2 separate regions of the Homo sapiens genome follow, and region 1 is linked to region 2. Evidence: promoter capture Hi-C in 16 types of primary human blood cells and fetal thymus (Javierre and others, 2016). All regions are on one chromosome and are shown on one strand. The core of a region is centred on a gene start or on the middle of the fragment in contact, and the rest is flanking DNA. Distances in the headings are between cores, read along the strand shown. Region 1 overlaps LOC105372633 (a long non-coding RNA gene). Region 2 holds the start of CD40 (CD40 molecule).

Region 1 (3,664 bases), core at 402-2,901, 310 kb before region 2:
GTCTCTCGAGTAATGGATGTTGCAACAGTCTTTGACTTGCTGGGTCCGCTGGCAAGTGGTTGGTCCCAAAAGGTCTCCCTCTGCCCGCTAGTCTCTTCAGCTGCAAAGACTGGCATTTTCCCAGTTGAGGAGAGGATTTAGCACTTTTGTTCTCCCCCACAGCTTTGTATGAGCTGGAACAATGAGACCATAGAGTGCTCACGGGGGCAGCTGCAGCCTCTCCCTTGGGAGGTCCTTGGATTTCCGTAGGTCAAGTGTTCCCGATTTCACTTTTCTTCTGACCATTACTCCTGGGCTCTGCACCTCCAGTCCCCGGGCTGTCGTGGGGCTCAGAAGCAGAAACTTGCTCTGCCAACTCCCTTCTTCTGGACCCCAGAGATGCACTAGATCTCTAAACCCCAGAAGCTGCTTGGCTCACAAAAGGTTCAGTAGCTGGTTTTAAATTGAAGGATGAAGGCAGCACAGATGTATTCAACAACCATCCCCGCAGAATTCTCAGAGGAAATTCCACTATATTCTAAATGGCAGAAATGTGTTCACAGACCACAATGCAATAAAACTAGAAATCGCCAAAGAATAGCCAAACAAACAAAAACCTCATTACCAACAAAACCCCTATAGACATGAATATTCAAAACCTACTCTTTTAACTATCTATTGGGTTCAAAAGAAAAATTAAAGTAGAAATTATAAATTATTTCTAATGAATAACAATGAGGGCACAAAAAATAAAAAATCTGTGAACTATGACCGAAGAAGCATTCAAAGGAAGATATACAGGCATATCTCAGAGATAATGCAACTTCAGTATCAGACCACTACAATAAAGCTAATATTGCAATTAAGTGAGTCATATGAATTTTTTGGTTTCCCAGTGCATATAAAAGTTATGTTTCCTCTATACTGTCATCAATTAAGTGGGCAATAGCATTATGTCTATAAATGTACATACCTTAATTTTAAAATACTTTATTGCTAAAAAATATTGATGATCATCTGAGCTTTCAGTGAGTCGTAATCTTTTTGCTGGTGGGAGGGTCTTACCTCAGTGTTGATGGCTACTGACTGATGTGAGTGGTAGTTTGCTGAAGTTCGGGGTGACTGTGGCAATTTCTTAAAATAAAACAACAATGAAGTTGGCTGCATCAATCAACTCTTCCTTTCATGAAAGCTTTCTTTGTAGCATGTGATGCTGTTTGATAGCATTTATCCCACAGTAGAACGTTCAAAATTGGAGTCAATCCTCTCAAACCCTGCAGTTGCTTTATCAACTAAATTTATGTAATATTCTAAATCCTTTGTCGTCATTTTAACGATGTTGATAGACTCTTCCCCAGAAGTAGTTGCCATCTCAATAAATTGCTCTCTTTGAGCATTCATAAAAAGTAACTCCACACTCATTAAAGTCTTCTCATGAGATTGCAGCAGTTCAGGCACACCTTCAGGCTCCACTTCTAATTCTAGTTGTCTTGCTATTTCTATCACATCTGCAGTTACTTCCTCCACCGAAGCCTTGAGTCTCTCAAAGTTATCCATAAAAGTTGGAATCAACTTCTTCTAAATTATTATTAATGTTGATATTTTGACCTCTTCTCCTGAATCACAAGCATTCTTGATGTAATCTAGAATAGTAAGTTCTTTCTAGGAGGTTTTCAATGTATTTTTCCCAGACCTATCAGAGGAATTACTATTTATGGCAGCTATAGCCTTACAAAATGTATTTCTTAAATAATAAGACTTGAAAGTCAAAGTTACTCTTTGATCCATGGGCTACAGAATGGATACTGTGTTAGCAGGGATAGGAACAACATTTGTCTCCTTGTACATCTTCATCAGAGTTTCTGAGTGACCTGGTGTTTTGTCGATGAGCAGTAATATTTTGAAAGGAATCTTTTTTATTCTGAGCACAGTTCTCAACAGTGGGCTTAAAATAATCAGTAAACCTTGCTATAAGCAGATGTGCTGTCATCCAGGCTTTGTTGTTACATTTATGGAGCACAGGCCAAAGAGATGTAACATAATTCTAAAGGGCTCTAAGACTTGAGAAATGGGAAATATGCATTGGCTTCAACTTAAAGTCACCAACTACCTTAGCTACTAACAAGAGAGTCAGCCTATCATTTGAAGCTTTGAAGCCAAGCATTGACTTCTCTCTATCTGCGAAAGTCCTTAATGGCATCATCTCCCAATAGAAGGCTGTTTTGTCTACATTGAAGATCTGTTTTTTAGTGTAGCCACCTTCATCAGTGATCTTAGCTAGATCTTCTGGAGAACTTGCTGCAGCTTCTCCATCAGCACTTGCTGCTTCACTTTGCATTTTTATGCTATAGAGATGGCTTCTTTCCTTAACCCTCATAAACCAACCTCTGATAACTTCAAACTTTTCTTCTGCAGCTTCTTCACCTCTCTGTCTTCATAGAATTGAAGAGAGTTAGGGGCTTGCTCTGGATTCGGTTTCGGTTTATGGGAATGTTGCAGCTGGTTTGATCTTCTATCCAGACCACTCAAACTTTCTCTGTATCAGCAATAAGGCTCTTTTGTTTTCTTATCATTCATGTGTTCTGAATTAGCACTTTTAATTTCCTTCAAGAAGTTTTTCTTTGCATTCACCACTTGGCTGTTTGGTGCAAGATGCCTAGCTTTTGACCTTTCTTGGCTTTCAACATGCCTCCCTCACTAAGCTTAATCATTTCTCTTTTTTTAATTTTAACTTTTAATTTTTGTGGAGACATAGTAGTTATGTATATTTATGGGCTGCATAAGATATTTTGATACTAGCATACAATGTGTAATAATCACATCAGGATAAACCAGGTATCCATCACCTCAAGCATTTTTCCTTTGTGTTACAAACAATCCAATTGTACTCTTTGTTGCTTTTAAATGTACAATTAAATTATTATTGACTGTCATCACCCTGTTATGCTGTCAAATATCAGGTGTTACTCATTCTTTCTATTTTTTTGGACCCATTAACCATCCTCACTCCCCTACCCCTCTCCCAATTACCCTTCCCAGCCTCTGGTAACCATCCTTTGACTCTCTATCTCCATGAGTTCAATTCTTTTAATTTTTAGCTCCCACAAATAAGTGAGAAGATGCCAAGTTTGTCTTTCTGTTCCTGGCCTATTTCACTTAATGCACTGACTGCCAGTTCCATCTACGTCATTGCAAATGACAGGATCTCGTTCATTCTTATGACTGAATAGTACTCCATTGTATAAATCAACCACGTTTTCTTTATCAATTCATCGTTGATGGACACTAGGTTGTTTCTAAATCTTGGCTATTGTGAATAGTGCTTCAATAAACATGGGAATGCAGATATGTCTTCAATATACTGATTTCCATTTTTTTGTGTATATACCTGGCAGTGGGATTGCTGGATCATATGGTAGCTCTATTTTTAGTTTTTTTAGGAACCTCTGAATTGTTCTAATTTACGTTCCCACCAACAGTGTATGAGGGTTCTCCTTTTTCCACATCCTCACCAGCACTTGTTATTGTCTGTCTTTTGGATAAATACCATTTTAACTGGGGTGAGATGATGCTTCATTATAGTTTTGACTTGCATTTATCTGATGATCAGTGATGTTGAGCACCTTTTCATACACCTGCTTCTCATTTGTATGTCCTCTTTTGAAAAATGTCTATTCATCAGATC
Region 2 (3,632 bases), core at 501-3,000:
GGAAAGGAAGTAGAAAAGGCTACTGCCCCCCACCAGCTCATTGCAAGACACCATCCTGTGAACGTGGAGCTCCCACACTCCCAAAGATAGGAAAGTCCTTGATACCATCTTCAAACACATGAGAAATAAAACGCTCCCCTAAAAGTCTGTCAATCTCCAGTTCTCACTCCCCATAGTTCTGGTCCTTCTGCCACAAAACAGCTCAGGACCAGAGCTTGGAGACTCTCACTATCTGAGAGGCAGGCTCGGGAATCATGCAGATGTAGATTCACAACCAGGTTCTTCCATTAGCTAGCTATGAGACCTTTGGCAAGACAATCCCCCTTTCTGAGCCTCAATTTGCCCATCTGTATAATGGGGGAGTTGTGAGAAATCAGACAAAGAAAACAGGCAGTGTTTGGCTCAGAGCCTGACACACAAGAAGCCCTCAATAGATAGCTTCTGACATTGTTGTCACAGCCCAGCCTCTACCTGGAGCCAAAGTTGGGAGTTATGAGGGCAAACTCTGCTCTTGAGAAGCCTGGATCACACCCTTCACCCCACCTCCTCTGGCTCTTTCTCCACTCCTACCACAAGGGCCCCCCTTTACCTCTTTCCAGCTCCGCCCTCCCCCTGCCTCCCTGTTCCCTAAGAGCCATTGCTTCAGGTGAAAGTGAAAGCTGTGGGACCAAAGCAGCCTCCCCACTCCCTCTCTTCCCTTGCTGCTTCCCTTGCTTTCCTTGATACCATGGGTCATTCCTGCCCAGGCTTCAGGCAGGAATCTACAGCCCTCTAAAGTAGGGGGAGGCCAGAGGGGCTGGGATGAAGGAGCCAGGTACTTGGGGGATTCCCAGCCTCCAGAATGAGGAACTACAAAAATACATTTAAACAAAAAGTGAGTCAAGTGTAGGCTTCTGAAAATCCCGGAGATATGCTTGGTTGGCTCTGAGCCCCTCTGGTGCCTGGAGAAACCCCTGGTTTCTCCAGCCCTCTGATCACCAGCCCTGTCAGAGCCAACCAGAACTCTGGTCTCCTAACCCTTTATTGTGTCCCATAAACTGTTCATCTCCCCAGGGGTCTCCTATGTCATCTTAAATTCAGGAGAAAAAGGCAAAGCCCTGGGGATTCCTCCTAGGTTGGAACACCCAAGATACGGTTCGGGGTGGAAGGCGATGTTAAAAGCTCCTTGCCTTCTCACAAAAGTACCTGGGCCTCTGCACCCATCTCTTGTTCCCACAAGATGCCCTGGAAGAAGGCAGCCCCAGCTGGCAAGGAGATGATAACTACTTACAGAGGCTGGCATCTGTCCACAATAAGAAGGGGACAGGAAACGGGCCAGACCCGCCCCTTCCCTTGGTCCGCCTCACTTCCCGCCCTCTGAACCCCCTACCAGTCTCTGTGTGGCCAGCCTCTGAGGCTCCCTAAACCCGTCCAGGCCGTCTAGGCACGCTTGGGCAGCCAGTGCCTTCCCTGAGCGGCCCCTGTAGGCCGCTCCCGGGACCCCAGCCCGGGAGAAGAGAGAGGCAGCCCACCCCATTCAGCCAGGAGCGGGGGCACCTTGCCCAGCTCCCACCCACCCTCCTGCCCCCACAAAAATCAGCCAGGAAGGCCTCTTCCCCGAAGTCTTCCTTCCCTTTCCTTCTCATTCCCCACTCCCAACTCCCGTCTGGTCGGGGCAAAAACAACTCACAGCGGTCAGCAAGCAGCCCCAGAGGACGCACTGCAGAGGCAGACGAACCATAGCGAGGTGAGACCAGGCGGCAGGACCACTGGGCGCCCGAGCGAGGCCTCTGCTGACTCCCCTGCCCCAGCCTTGGCCCCGCCCAGGAAAGGGGCGGGGTCTTCAAAGACCAATCGCGGTCCACCTATCGGGGGGGCGGAGCCCCCAGCAATTCACCGCGCAGGAGTTTCCCCAGAACATTCCCACAAGTCTAATTCCCCCGGGAGTTTAGGGACGCATCTTGCTGTGTACGGGAGGAGGCATGGTCCCAGAGACAGCTCTTCTTCTTTGCCCCCAGGTCCCACAAAGGCCAAGCCGAGGCGGGCTAGGAGCTAGCCTGCTTCCTGCGACCGGAGAGAGATCCCATGGGTGCTGGGGCCTGCCACAGGGACCCTCACGGTTTTCCCCTCCCTGCCCCGCTCTCCGCTGCCTCTAGGTATCCTGGCAGAACCGAAAGAGGCTCCACTGCGGAGAGGCCTGAGGAAGTTCCCCCCACACCACCACGCAGAAAACGGGAAGGCCACAGCTGGGGTATGGGGAGGCGTTTCAAGGAAGAGTTTCCCAACTCAGAATTTCGCTCTCTTTCAAAGGAAATTCCCTCGTGTGGGCGCGTCGTCTCAACTTCCCATCCATTCATCCATGCATCCATGCGTCCTCACCTCATTCCATTCCATCCCACCTCCCACCCAGCACCTGGAGACAGGCATTTATTAAGAGTGGGGCCGGGCGCGGTGGCTCACGCCTGTAATCCAGCACTTTAGGAGGCCGAGGCGGGCAGATCACTTGAGGTCAGGAGTTCGAGACCAACCTGGCCAACATAGTGAAACTCCGTCTCTACTAAAAATACAAAAATTAACCGGATGTAGTGGCGTTCGCCTGTAATCCCAGCTACTCGGGAGGCTGAGGCAGGAGAATCGCTTGAACCGCAGAGGCAGAGATTGCAATGAGCCGAGATCGTGCCACTGCACTCCAGCCTCGAAGGCAGAGCAAGACTCAGTCTCAAAAAAAAAAAAAATAAATAATAAATAAAAATAAAAATAAAGGTGGGGGCCAGGCGCGGTGGCTTACGCCTGTAATCTAACACTTTGGAAGGCCAAAAAGGGAGATTGCTTGAGGCCAGGAGTTCAAGACCAGCCTGGCAACATGGCAAGACCCCCATCTCTACAAAATAAAGAAATTTTTAAGTTAGCCAGGCATGGTGGCAAACACCTGTAGTCCCAGCTACTCAGGAGGCTGAGGCAGGAGGATCGCTTGAGCTCAAGAAGTCAAGGTTGCAGTGAGCCATGATTGCAATGATTACATCACTGCACTTCAGCCTGGGCGACAGTGCAAAACTCCATCTCAAAAAAAAAAAAAGAGTGGGCCAGCCTTTTGTGGCATCATAAAACACTTTAAGTATGTTAGGAAACTCGGGACCCTCTCATTTTGCAGAAACACACACACTTGTGCCTACATTTCCTGGGTTCATGAACTCTGAAGACGTGCTTTTGTTTTTTTGTTTTTTGTTTCGTTTTGTTTTTTGGGTGTTTGTTTGGTTTTTGGTTTTTGGGTTTTTTTTGACAGAGTCTCATTCTGTTGCCCAGGCTGGAGTGCAGTGGCATGATCTCGGCTCACTGCAACCTCTGCCTCCTGGGTTCAAGCAATTCTCCTGCCTCAGCCTCCCGAGTAGCTGGGATTACAGGCTGGCGCCACCACGCCCAGCTAATTTTTGTATTTTTAGTAGAGACGGGGTTTCTCCACGTTGGCCAGGCTGGTCTCAAACTCCTGACCTCAGGTGATCCGCCTGCCTTGGCCTCCCAAAGTGCTGAGATTACAGGCATGAGCCACCGCACCTGGCCCTCAAGATGTTCTTGAACCAGTGTTAACACTCTGCTTTGCAGCATGGAACACCTGGGTTCTGGTGCAGCCTCTGCCTCTGAAGGACTGTGTTCCC

Evidence for each region. Contacts are between HindIII fragments. The CHiCAGO score rates a contact against its expected background, and 5 or more counts as called.
Region 1: a contact is called between a fragment that was not itself captured here and the fragment with the promoter of CD40 in region 2, in 1 of 17 cell types (endothelial precursors). The highest score is 5.2, in endothelial precursors.

What each region holds. Positions count from the first base shown.
Region 1 is chr20:46,427,573-46,431,236 of GRCh38, reverse strand. All of the region lies in intron 2 of LOC105372633 (a long non-coding RNA gene), which reads right to left. Among named protein-coding and RNA genes, the nearest start is that of ELMO2, 23 kb to the right of the region's middle. The HindIII fragment of the contact is 956 bases long and covers 1,174-2,129 here.
Region 2 is chr20:46,116,432-46,120,063 of GRCh38, reverse strand. CD40 (CD40 molecule) reads right to left here and starts at 1,750. Exons shown (of 9, transcript NM_001250.6): 1 at 1,670-1,750. The coding sequence starts at 1,720. RefSeq lists enhancers at 528-877, 1,888-1,947, 1,713-2,529, a silencer at 1,752-1,971 and a cis regulatory region at 471-2,568. The HindIII fragment of the contact is 10,977 bases long and covers 1-3,632 here.